Linked DNA regions of Homo sapiens: regions 2, 3, 4 and 5 are each linked to region 1. Evidence: promoter capture Hi-C in 16 types of primary human blood cells and fetal thymus (Javierre and others, 2016). All regions are on one chromosome and are shown on one strand. Each heading gives the region's core, a stretch centred on a gene start or on the middle of the fragment in contact. The rest is flanking DNA. Distances are from core to core; before and after follow the strand shown.

Evidence for each region. The method cuts DNA at HindIII sites, captures the fragments that hold promoters and counts their contacts. A CHiCAGO score of 5 or more calls a contact.
Region 2: a fragment that was not itself captured here is called in contact with the fragment with the promoter of PHF3 in region 1 in 7 of 17 cell types (naive CD8 T cells, non-activated CD4 T cells, naive CD4 T cells and 4 more); the score reaches 11.7 in naive CD8 T cells.
Region 3: a contact is called between a fragment that was not itself captured here and the fragment with the promoter of PHF3 in region 1, in 3 of 17 cell types (total CD4 T cells, naive CD8 T cells and activated CD4 T cells). The highest score is 6.8, in total CD4 T cells.
Region 4: a fragment that was not itself captured here is called in contact with the fragment with the promoter of PHF3 in region 1 in 10 of 17 cell types (non-activated CD4 T cells, total CD4 T cells, naive CD8 T cells and 7 more); the score reaches 28.9 in non-activated CD4 T cells.
Region 5: a contact is called between a fragment that was not itself captured here and the fragment with the promoter of PHF3 in region 1, in 16 of 17 cell types (non-activated CD4 T cells, naive CD8 T cells, total CD8 T cells and 13 more). The highest score is 39.5, in non-activated CD4 T cells.

Annotation. Positions count from the first base shown.
Region 1 is chr6:63,634,546-63,637,055 of GRCh38, forward strand. It overlaps PHF3 (PHD finger protein 3), which reads left to right and starts at 1,257. Exons shown (of 16, transcript NM_001370348.2): 1 at 1,257-1,605. RefSeq lists enhancers at 1-482, 1,014-1,834 and silencers at 1,052-1,411, 1,852-2,031. The HindIII fragment of the contact is 3,030 bases long and covers 237-2,510 here.
Region 2 is chr6:63,748,507-63,751,016 of GRCh38, forward strand. The region is part of intron 41 of EYS (eyes shut homolog); the gene reads right to left. Among named protein-coding and RNA genes, the nearest start is that of SCAT8, 57 kb to the right of the region's middle. The HindIII fragment of the contact is 2,810 bases long and covers 1-2,510 here.
Region 3 is chr6:63,530,154-63,532,663 of GRCh38, forward strand. It overlaps a transcript of LGSN not described here and a transcript of PTP4A1 not described here. Among named protein-coding and RNA genes, the nearest start is that of PTP4A1, 41 kb to the right of the region's middle. The HindIII fragment of the contact is 3,557 bases long and covers 1-2,510 here.
Region 4 is chr6:63,726,328-63,728,837 of GRCh38, forward strand. It overlaps EYS (eyes shut homolog), which reads right to left. Exons shown (of 43, transcript NM_001142800.2): 42 at 192-353. Among named protein-coding and RNA genes, the nearest start is that of SCAT8, 79 kb to the right of the region's middle. The HindIII fragment of the contact is 8,279 bases long and covers 1-2,510 here.
Region 5 is chr6:63,705,314-63,707,823 of GRCh38, forward strand. It overlaps PHF3 (PHD finger protein 3), which reads left to right. Exons shown (of 16, transcript NM_001370348.2): 12 at 716-911; 13 at 1,416-1,563. Among named protein-coding and RNA genes, the nearest start is that of PHF3, 71 kb to the left of the region's middle. The HindIII fragment of the contact is 1,556 bases long and covers 476-2,031 here.

The DNA.
Region 1 (2,510 bases), core at 7-2,506:
AAAAAGATTGTAAAACAAAGTCTTGAGGGATTGATTAGTCAAGACAGGGGGTGAAACTCTTAAGAATCCAGTGGAATCAGGACAACCCAAACTTCCTTTGTAGAAGAGCATTTGCTATTAAGAGTGCTTAAAATATCAGAAGACTAGAGAGAGGAAAGAACAGATCTTCACCACATGCCTGTGACTTATTCTTCCACCCTGCACTAATCTTACAATGTGGGCTGCGGTTGGTCTAAAGCTTAAATCAACAAGTACTGTAAAGGTTTTAGAACAGTGCAGACCACACAGTAAGGTGCTCAGCAGGTACTGGCTGAATACTGTAATAGTCCCTGTAGATAAAAGCCACAAACCCTGTCCCTAAGTAGCTCCTTTTGGTTGGAGTGACTGACAAGCAACAATTACTTCACAGCGCTTATTAAGGGCTGAGATAGGGGTTAGCTCAAGTGTCTGTGGAAGCAGACCAGTGGGTCTCAAACTTTTTTTGTCTCTGGACCTCTACACAATATTTGTTACCACAAATAATGTATTTATGAAAAGCATATTTTCCAAATTAATAAAAGGGTGATATCTAAAATTTCTGCAGATTTCCTCAATGTCTGGCTTAATAGAAGATGGCTGGATTCTCTTATCTGTTTCTGCATTGAATCAGCTGCTATATGCTGTTTTGGTTGAAGGGTGGGAAGAAAATTTGGCCTTAGACACATGCTCCTGGCAAAGGAATGGAGGCTCTACTGAAAGGTCTTGGCGACCCCTCAGGGAAACCTGGGACCACATTCTGAAGACTGCTTACTGGATACCAAGAATGTTTCTTGGAGGTAGCAATTTGAGTCCTGAGGTAGATCAGCCATGTAGGGTGAGGGTAACGGAGGTAGTTAATGGTAAGGCTGCTGTGCCGAGCCAGCACAGATATTTGGGCAGAGGGCTCATCTACTCCATCCTATTCTACCATTCTTGAACTCACAGTCAATTAATAAAAAGTACCTGGGGTTGGGGAGCTGCGCATCAATATTATATTAACTGTGAAGCCTTAGTGCTTACTACGGTCGAGAAAAAGCGCTCCTCTGATTCGCCCCTCCCGGCGGCGCGGAGGTGTGAGCTAGAAGCCCGCAGGCGGTGCCGCGTCCTCCGAAGACAGGGAGGGGCGCGGCAACGCCGGGAAGCGCTGCAGCCCGGGGCCCCACGGAGGCGCGGCGCTCGAGGCCCTAAAGCGCGCAGGCGCGGCAGCGACGCAGGCCGCGGCCCCCGGAACGGTAAACAGTGGGGTCACGTGACACGGCCCCTCTCCAGCTCCCGCGCCGCCGCCGCACGCCGATGGCTGCGGGGTCTCGCGCCGTCGCACCGTCCCCACGCGGCAAGCGACCTTCGGGCTCAGGGCGGCGGCGGCTGCAACGAGGATTAGGAGGGCGGCGCGGAAGCCAAGAATAGTGTCGTCAGCAGCAGCCATTTGGTCCCAGGAGGAAAAGAGGCTGTGGCAGCGACGCCGACGTCCTGCGCGTACCCCCTCTCCGCGGCACCCACCGGGCCCCCTCCTCCTCCTCTTCGGCGGCGGCAGCGTCCACCATCTTCCTCTTGCTGCCAGTGGTAGCGCTCGTCTGGCGGAGCTGGGTGAGTTGCGGCTGTGGCCGCGGCCAGGGAGACGGGCAATCCTCCCCTCCCCCATCCCCTTCCACACGCACAGCGCCTCCGCGGGCCTCTCCGCCCCTCCCGCGGCGGACTCTCCGCGCTTTTCTCCCGCGCAGCCGAGAGATCGCCTCTCGGGCCTCTTGCGCAACGTCCTCGGCCTACCTGGGCCGCGCCGCTGGCGCCTGTGGACCATTTGGACCGCGGGCTGGGGAGGGAGTCGCAGCGACGCGGTCGCCAGGCGGAGGGTCGGGACCACGGCCTCTCTCCCGACCACTGGTACCCAGCCGTCTGCTGCGAGGGCGCCCCGCCGCCGCTGAGGCGCGGGCGCGCAGGCCCGAGGCACGGCGGGCGCTGCCTGGAAGGCCCGTCTCGCAGGCCCCCGGATCCGGCCGTTGGGGCCTCTTCCTTCTCAGGGAGCCCCAGCATGGAGCTTTGGGCCTTGGTTTCGGGAAACTGGGACTGGCCCTGGCTGCTAGGCTGCTCCCTGCTGCTGCTTTTTGGAGATGAGAGTTGCTCTTCCATTTATCCTCCAGTTACCGCGCGCTTTTGTGCCCGGGACTCAAACTGTGGACTCCTTTTGCTTAGTTTGAAATGAGAAGCCTAGACTCTTGCCTTCCGATAATACATGTAATTTAATGAACCACTTGTCGATACGTACGTGTTAATGGTGCTAAATAACTGATCACCTGACACGGGGGGCGGGGGCGGTGCGGAGAGTAGAAAGGAAGAGAATGTTGATATCGCGCACGGAGTCCTGTGTCCCTCCTTTCCCTCAGGATGTGTTGCCGGGTTAGGTGACCTTTTTCCATCTTTGGGCTTTTAAATGCCAATTCCTAGAGACTAGATTGGGGTGGTTATTAGTGCTTTCCAGTAGTCACGCGTAGAAT
Region 2 (2,510 bases), core at 6-2,505, 110 kb after region 1:
AGTTAAGGAGGAGTCCCTCCTCATCAATTTTTTGGAATAGTTTTAGTAGGAACGGTATCAGCTCTTCTTTGTACATCTGGTAGAATTCAGCTGTGAATCTGTCTGGTCCTGGGCTTTTTTTGGTTGGTAGGCTAGTTATTATTGATTTAATTTTGGAGCTCATTATTGGTCTTTTCAGGGATTCAGGTTCTTTCTGGTTCAGTCTTGGGTGGGTGTATGTATCCAGGAATTTATCTATTTTTCCTAGATTTTCAAATTTGTGTGCATAGAAGTGTTTACAATATTCTCTGATGATTATTTGTATTTCTGTGGAGTTAGTGGTAATATCCCCCTTGTTATTTCTAATTGTGTTTATTTGGATCTTCTCTCTTTTCTTCTTTATTGGTCTAGCTAGTGGTCTATTTTATTTTATTTTTTCAAAAACACAACTCCTGGATTTGTTGATCTTTTGAATGATTTTTTGTGTCTCAATCTCCTTCAGTTCAGCTCTGATTTTGGTTATTTCTTTCTTCTGCTAGCTTTGGGCTTGATTTGCTCTTGGTTCTCTAGTTCTTTTAGTTGTGATGTTAGGTTGTTAAATTGCTATCTTTCTAACTTTTTGATATGGGTGTTCAGTGCTGTAAATTATCCTCTTGACACTGTCTTAGCTGTGTCCCAGAGATCCTGGTGTGTTGTATCTTTGTTCTCATTAGTTTCAAAGAACTTCTTGATTTCTATGTTAATTTCATTGTTTACCCCAGAGTCATTCAGGAACAGGATATTCAATTTCCATGTAATTGTATGATTTTGAGCTATTTCCTTAGTCTTGATTTCTTACTTCATTGCACTGTGATCTGACAGAGTGGTTGTTATGATTTCAGTTCTTTTGCATTTGCTGAGGAGTATCTTATGTCTGATTATGTGGTCAATTTTAGAGTGTGTGCCATGTGACAATGAGAAGAATGTATATTTTGTTGTTTTTGGGTGGAGAGTTCTGTAGATGTCTGTCACGTATGTTTGATCCAGTACTGAGTTTAGGTCCTGAATATCTTTGTTAATTTTCTGCCTTGATGATCTGTCTACAGATGCTCCCATTCCAAACCCTCTGGGCTCTGTATCGGCTGATATCCTTCCCCATCACTTCTCCAAGCAGGTTTTCCTGCCAACTCAAGTGTCTGTGGTGGTCAAGGGGTCTCCTGCTGCCAGGATTCCAGAGGCCTGTGGTGAGAGTGGGTTGTTCCTTGCCAGTTCAACTCACCCATTCCCCCAGAGTCACTGGGGGTCAGGAACAAGTACTGGTGCATAGTAGCCCCCTCCAGGGGTCCCAACTTCCTCCCTCTTCAGCCTGGCTTCTGTGTCTTCCCTCAGTCTGCTCTCAGTGCCTTCCCTCTGAAGATCTGCTAGGACTGTGTGCCACTTGTCCTAGTCCCTTGGTGACAGCTGTTCCACCTGGCTGTGTCTGGTTGGCCATCTTGCCCAAATCTCTCAATAATTTTAAATGACCTGATTTCAAGTTTGCCAATTCCTTCTCCTGTCAGATCAAGTCTGCTGTTAAACCCCTATAATGAATTGTTCAGTTCAGTTTTTGTATTTTTCTGCTATAGGTTTCTGTTTTTTAATATAGTTTATTTATCTTTGTTGACAGTCTTATTTTGTTCATGCATAATTTTCCTGATTTCTTTAGTTGCCTATGTTATCTTTTTAACATATTGAGATCCTTGTGACAGTTATTTAAAATCCTTGTTAAGCAGCTCATATATCTGCATTCGTTAGGGTTGATTTCTGGAGTTTTATTTTGTCCCTTTGATTTAGTCATGTTCTGCTGTTTCTTTGTATGCCTTGTAATTTTTTGCTTGGGTTTGAGCATTTGAAAAATACCCTCTATCCCAGTTTTTATATTCTGACTTTGTACAGGAGAAGACCTTCTTTAATCAGCCCAGCTGGAAGACCTCTCAAACCCTTCTAATCTCTTACTCTCCTTGGAATCTGCCTGCTGAACTGCATTTCTAATATTCCACTCCACCTTTGTTTCCAGTGGCTTCTGAATTCTGGTGTCAATACTGTCAGCACTCTGAGTCAGGTGGTACAGAAATGAGTCCTTTGGGCAGCCCTCAGACAAGCCAGAACATTGGACTCATGTTCTACTGTTTATTTCTGTCCCAAGGGAGGAGAACTCATATAGAGGATTCCTTCCAGTTGCTCTGTGTGATGCTGCATAGAGGAAGGGGAACAAATGTGTGTGACAAATGCCGCAGATTTTCCTACACCTTTCACTGGAATTCCGTCTTTGTCTTACAATAGCCTTAGTGCTATAGATTCTCAATTGGTCTCCAGCATTATCACAGAGGAATTGTGGTCCACATATTATTGTTAATTTGGTGTCTTTGTTGGGGAAGGAGAGCCTGTAGCTTCCTAGTCTATCTATGCTGACCTGCACTTCTACTTTTAAAGTGTAACTTTTTCCTCCAAATCTAAAGCTCTGCAATATGCTTTGTGAATTTCACCACTCTTACCTTGGATGCACTAATTTT
Region 3 (2,510 bases), core at 4-2,503, 100 kb before region 1:
ATCCAAAATGATATAACAATGAAATGTGATCATTAAAACAGCCATGAAGTTAATTTACTTAACACTTTTTTTTCATACACTGGAGTCAGCAGATTATTCCAAGGTGAAGAAAAGGCATAGATGTAACCTTGTAAGAGGACAGCTGTGAGACACAGCTACAGACAAAGCCAGCCTGAGAAAAAGCACAAAGGCTGAATATTAAATTTATATGATGGTACTGGAAGGCAGCCAGGAGTGGTTTGCCCTGCCTTTTATTCCCAAATCTGTAGTTGGGATGGTACCATAAGATGCTCTAGGTAAACATGAAGGCTTAGACGCCCAGATGTAAATGGCTGCCTCATACAGTCACACAGGCTATTTACTGCACAACTCCAGTGGACGCCGTTCACATAGGCTACAATGTGAAAAAAGCCCCCTGAATTTGTGAACATGGAGGCCCTTCTGTGCTAAATCACTAGGGTCATAGGGAATAATAGAAAAAAAGGAGAAGATAAAATTGTATTAAACTATCATAAAGATTTTTTCAAATAAAACATATACATAGAAAAATGATCAGAAGGAAGTACATCAAAATGAAATTTCTAGAGGCATACCTGAATTCATTTTTTCTTATTCCTAGTCTTCTGTATTTTAACATTGAATAAATCAGCAGTTTTAAAATAAATTAACATTTAATAAAGTAGTACCTTAAAACATCCAAATTGATACTTTCTTATAGCTTCAATGCTATAAACTATCAGAGATGTAATGATTAGAATGGTTTCCATACCAATGGAAAATCCTTTAGAAAAATGAGCACTATTTTTCTACATTTGTTTGCATTTTAACCTAGCTTTATAATTTCAACTATTCAACTAAATATAAGAATGAGCTTTGCTTGTGAAAATTCTGATATTATAAATACTAGAGAACTTCTATATTGTGTGTCCAAAGATAGATCAGGTTTCAAGCACAGTTCCCTCAGTCTCCAAAGTCCTCTCAGTTCTGCCTGCCTCTTGAGTTGGTGTCCATCAAGATAACTGCAAGCAATGAGGGCTACCTGCTTCCTGGTTCACAGCCAATGGGCAGAGACTGTCCACCTCTAAACTAATCACAGACTAAGAAGAGGATTTGGTTTAATTAGTGGGGAATAGATGGAATGAAGGGCAAATACCGATTTGTGAGGCCTGTAACATTTTCAGTCTGGGGGTTCTCTTTAACTAAAACAATAAAAAATTTATTCCAAAAATGAACATTTATTTGGAAAGAAAAAACATAACAAATTATAATTTTTAATGCAAAATGCCTACATAGACATCACAAAATCCAGAAGAGATAATGTAATATTTGTATTAAGTTCCTGACCCATATCTATTATGCTTTTTTTTTTTTTTTTTTTTGTAAATGCAGTGGTGCCTGCCATCTTAGCTCACTGCAGCCTCAACCTCCTGGACTCAGGCAATCTTCCTCTCTCATCCTCCTGAGTAGCTGGGACTATAGGCACGAGCCACCATGCTTGATCAATATTTCATACTTTTTTGTAGGGATGGGGTTTTACCATGTTGCCCAGGCTGGTCTTAACTACTGGACTCAAGTGACCCACCTGTCTTGGCCTCCCAAAGTGCTGTGATTACAGGCATGAACCACCATGTCCAGCCTCCCATAACACTTTTATCTGCATGTTTATGGCCACATACACTTTTTTTTTTTTTTGAGACAGAGTCTTGCTCTATCACCCAGGCTCACTGCAACCTTGCCTCCCGGGTTCAAGCAATTCTCTGCCTCAGCCTCCCGAGTAGCTGGAATTACAGGCATCCACCACCATGGCTGGTTAATTTTTGTATTTTTAGTAGAGACGGGGTTTCACCATCTTGGTGAGGCTGGTCTTGAACTCTTGACCTTGTGATACACCCACCTCGGCCTCCCAGAGTGCTGGGATTACAGGCGTGAGCCACCACGCCCGGTCAACCACATACTCTTTGATTGCCTCTTCTTATGACAACTTTATAATAGTTAATAAAGAAAAAATTAGAAATAACAATTCAATCTTTCCTCTCACATATATAATTGAAATTGTTACTGAAATTTTGAAAACTTTCTTCTAGTGTCACAATTTATTATGAGTGAAGTCATACAAATTTTCAGGAATATTGTCAAATTTTGGTAAATCTCTATTAAGTTGTTTTTTGATCTTTTCCTATAAGATTTTCCACAGTTTAGCTTCTGGATTCATACCTCTCAAATCTTGAATCTCCTCTATGCTCACATACTACCAGTACCAGCCACAGGACCTGCTCATGGCTGCATACATCCTATGTATGGGTCAGCACAGCACAGTGGATGGTAGGACTATTTCTGGAAGCCTTTTCTATACCAAGGCAGCTAGCTGTACATGGAGGTAGGTGCAAACCAGGTAAATAAATGCCATTAAATCCACAAAAAAAAAATCTCCCCATTCACTATCCCCTTATTAAATCTCAAAAATGTCCTATGCCACTGTACAGCTTTCAACCGAAGAGCAAGTATGATGG
Region 4 (2,510 bases), core at 7-2,506, 92 kb after region 1:
AACAAATCTGTTGCTATTTTATTAGAATATCTAGGGCTTCTAAATTCATACGCATACACTTGCAGTGACAATAGAACATAAAAGCATCAAATGTTTACATATTTAAATACTAGGTGACACAAACACTATCATACATTACTTAATAGACTATTAGGAATTCATTCTGCAAACAAACAGCCTGCCAATCTTACCTGATTGGGCTTTTAAGTGTTGTGCAGCATAAAATAGGATACCATCTGCAGCGAGAGGCTGAAACTGCAATTGAATATGTGTCTTTTTTCGAACATGAAAGGAAGCAAAAGACATCCAGGATAACTCATTGCTTCTGAAAGATGGATCACTTATGGATAAAGCTGAGGGAAGGAGAGAAAGAGAACTCTGGGAGTTATCTGCTGGATTAAAAAACATTGCTCATAAATACAATAAACTGCTTATGTAATTTTGTAATTTCAGGATTTATCGCCCAAGAGTTGCTTGTAGGTGAGTACATCAAACCTTGGTAACTTTGTGAGTCTGTTTTAATTCCACTAACTTTAGGGTTTTGTAACGAAGTCACTTACTGAAAAGCCTTCTCTTGCTTCTGGTAACTATGCCTTTTTGGCCGATACTATCTGACACAAATCTTCTGCTCTAGATTGCATTATATAGAGGGATCAGATGCATAGCTGAAATTCTTGGAAATGTCTTACATTTATAATGCTTTCAGAAAGTTCAAATGTTGGAAGATAGAGGACAACACTTTATAAGTTATTCTTCAGCCTCTATATTTCTGATTCAAATACAGAGTATAATTGAGTCAGGATATATTATAAGGCATAATATATTGATTTTTTTTTTTGCTTCTGTGTATAACTGACCCAATGGGAATTATGAGAGGGAGATGGAAAGTTCTGCACATTTGGCCAGTTTTTATCCCTATGAAATCTATATTCCTTCTTCTTTTCTTATAATGTTACAGTGCTTCTTAGAGTGCGCCCTGGTTCAGGACATAGCTTAGCCATTAATCTAGTTATTTAGTTTTCTCCCTGCTCTGTGGACCAGGCGTATGCTAACGGCTCCTTTTACTTTAGATTGAATAATTGGTAGGTGTTTATCCAAGAGGTGTTGGCATTTGCTGATTTTTTTTAAAAAACTGTACTCATTCATTTCGACTTATTGCTATTCAGAAGGGTAGAGGTTAGAATCACCTGATCGTGTTGCCAAGAATGCAAAGCGCTATACCTCATTCCTAGAGGGCCTGATTTATTAAAGCCAGGATGGAGGCTGGGCACGGTGGCTCACTCCTGTAATCCCAGCACTTTGGGAGGCTGAGGCTGGAGGATTGCTTGAGCTCAGGAGTTTGAGACCAGCCTGAGCAACATGGCGAAACACCATCTCTCAAAAAAAAAAAAAAAAAAAAAAAAAAAAAAAATATATATATATATGTTAGCTGGGCATGGTGGCGAATGCCTGTGGTCCCAGCTACTGGGGAGGCTGAAGTGGAAGGATCAGTTGAGCTTGGGAGGTGGAGGTGGGGGTGGAGGTGGGGGTGGAGGTTGCAGTAAGCTGAGATGGCACCACTGCACTCCAGCTTGGGCGACGGAGTGGGACCCTGTCGTAAAAAAAAAAAATGCTGGGATGGGATTCAGAAAGCATCCCCATTTTTAATAAACCCTCCTGGTGTTTCTGACATAGGGGTTCCTTGGACCACATTTTCATAAAATCTGGTTAAAATTTTAAGAACACAAGGGTGATTTAAAATGTGAGTGTCCTTTTGAAACTTTTTAAAATATTGCTAAATTAATACATGTTTATTATAAGACAAACAATATAAAAGTGTATAACATTTTTTAAGTGAAATTTCATTGTTTCTCCTCTCTTAATCCCAAGAATTACTGTTAAGTTTATTGTACATGTAGCCAGACTTTAAAAAAATACACATACAATTAACATATGCATATATCTAATACTTGATTTATTTTAAATAAAACCACATTTTATATAAACTATGCATAAGTAATTGCTTTTTTCCATCTATCTTTGTGAAACTGATATTAGCATATTTTGCCTATCACTTCTTTTAAATACATGGAAGGTATTTTTAAAAGTACACTTTATTTTTTCAGAGCCATTTTAGGTTCACTGCAAAACTGAGTGGAAAGTATTAGGGTTTCCATATACCCCTTGTCTCAACACATGCGCAGCCTTCTCCACTGTCAGTATTGCCCACTAGAGTACATTTGTTAAATGGATGACTCTATATTGACACATCATTATCACATAAGTTCATCATTTACATAGGATTCACTCTTCACGTACATTCTATGGATTTTGACAAATGCGTTGTGAAATTTATTTACCATTACAGTATCATACATAAAATCATACATCATATCCTCTTTGCTTGCCTATTTGACTCTCCCTCCACCCTGGCAACCACTGATCTTTTTTTACTGACTTCATGGTTTTGCCTTTTCCAGTATATCATATAGTTGGAATCATACAGTTTGAACACAAGTTTTCAGCTCCTT
Region 5 (2,510 bases), core at 4-2,503, 71 kb after region 1:
ATTACTACCTTAGGGGTCCTCAACCCCCGGGCCACAAACCTGTACGGTCCATGGCCTATTAGGAACTGGGCCTCACAGCAGGAGGTGAGCGGTGGACGATACTGCCTGAGCTCCGCCTCCTGTCAGATGCAGTGGCGTTAGGTTCTCATAGGGGTGCAAACCCTATTGTGAACTGCACATGTGAAGGATCTAGGTTGCGTGCTCCTTATGAGAATCTAACTATTAATGCTTGATGATCTGAGGTGTAATGGTTTCATCCTGAAACCATCTCTCCCCTCATCCCACCGTCCATGGGAAAATTGTCTTCCATGAAATTGGTTGCTGGTGATAAAAAGGTTGGGGACTGCTAATCTTGTCCATATTTACTCATGATATGTTTTACATGTAGGAAATAATTATAAAGAGATTTTAAGGGGAAATTAACTTTATTACAGGTAGAACCATGCATGATTTGCTTTGAATTGCATTTCAGATAAGCTTAGGTCCCTGTATATAGAAGAGGGCTGGCAGTGGGGAGAACACTAGTGAATTTTCTGCTGATTCTTAAATGTGGTTGTGATACAACTAAATGATGACAGTTAGATATAACCCCAGGAAATGTATGGTTACTCAGCAATTGAATCATAGAACCTGAATAACTTTAGAAAGTGAAAATGGGTTAAGTTATAAAAGTTGTAGTTAACAGTTGGTTTCTTTTGATGTATTCTGGGCTTAGGTCGAATGGCACCACCTGTAGATGATCTTTCTCCAAAAAAAGTAAAAGTTGTTGTAGGAGTAGCTCGCAAACATTCAGACAATGAAGCAGAAAGTATAGCAGATGCATTATCTTCAACCTCAAATATTTTGGCTTCTGAATTCTTTGAGGAGGAGAAACAGGAGTCTCCAAAGTCAACGTTCTCTCCTGCTCCACGGTAATTTTCTCTGTTGTAAATTCTGTAATACTCATTATAGATCTTTGCCAGATTATACTTGCAAGTCTTCAAAAACAGAAAAGTGACATTTTGGGAACCTCTCATTTGAGAAAATAACTGTACTTTCCTGTACTTTGAGATAAAACAAGACTTCGAAAATAAATATATTTGGAGTGTTTTCAGTGAGAGATTGGAGCGTGTGGGGAAACAGCTTTAAAATTCTCTTTAATTATGCTGGTCCCAAAAGTCAGGGATAGATTATTAAAGACGAAATGTTTGCACTTTTCTCAATCTTAGTTCTCCTAAGCCAGCCAAGAGGGAAGATTTTGTAAAACATTACTATGTAAATATGAATGTAATTTTATAAAATGAAAGTGTGAACTCTTTGTCAATAGCCTCATATTTTGGCCTTCTTCACATGCTAAAATACGAGTAACTGATGACTAGGTAGGACATTGATTTATTCATCAGCTTGTCTTTAGGCTTTTTAATGTCATTTTCTAGTCCAGAGATGCCTGGAACTGTTGAAGTTGAGTCTACCTTTCTGGCTCGATTGAACTTCATCTGGAAAGGTTTTATCAACATGCCTTCTGTGGCAAAATTTGTTACCAAAGCCTATCCAGTATCTGGCTCCCCAGAATACCTGACAGAGGTACTGTGAACTTTTCTGCTTTTCTGTGCATGAATTGATAATGTGTGTTTCTGAAAGTAATTGACAGGGAAATAAGACAGAGTTAGTAATAGAAATATTTATTAACAATGATTTTTAAACAGTCCAAGTAATATAATTATGAATTAACAAATGGATCTTTAGAATTGTAAAATAAACTATTCTCTGAAAGTTTTAAACTCCTATGTCCTGCACTTTTCCCAAGATGTACTGCCTCACTGTGTCAGATAATTCAAAATCAATGAGAGTCTACATGGATATCCAAGTTTTTCTTTGAATACACACTTAAATAAAAGATTTACATACTTTTGGTCTTTAATGTTAACACATTAAGAATTTTTTGTTAAACAGATCTTCTGATTTCCCCACTGCTTATGTTTCCCCATCTTCATGACTACTGTTCTTACCTGCCTATTTCTGTGAATGTGGTTTATGTAGACTGGGAGTTGAAGCTTTACAGCTAGTTGAAAACCAGTGAGACTAGTGACTGTAGTTGCTGCAAGTGATACCCTTGGTTGGTTCTACACCTGAGGGAAATAGAAAGAAACTATTATGTGGTATTTATGGAAAATAAGCAGCAGTAACATTATAATATTGTGATAAATGAGACAGTGACATTTTTGAATTATTTTGAAGGAAATGTATTTTTATATGTGTATAGAAGGAAAATAAATCAGTACATATATACTGTATTTATGTTGAGATCATATTTTGCTATCTTGTTCGTATCTGACCTTTTTCATTTATTCTCTATCTGCTGATTTTAAAGAATTAAAAGATTGTAAAAAAATTCCTTTTATTATTTGAAAAAGCCTAAATCATTTGCCTGTCTTTTTTTTTTTTTTAAGGCTAACATAAACTTCACTTTTCTTTGGATTAGGCTGCAATTAGTTTAATTCAATGTAATACTGTTTATGTAATATTGATCA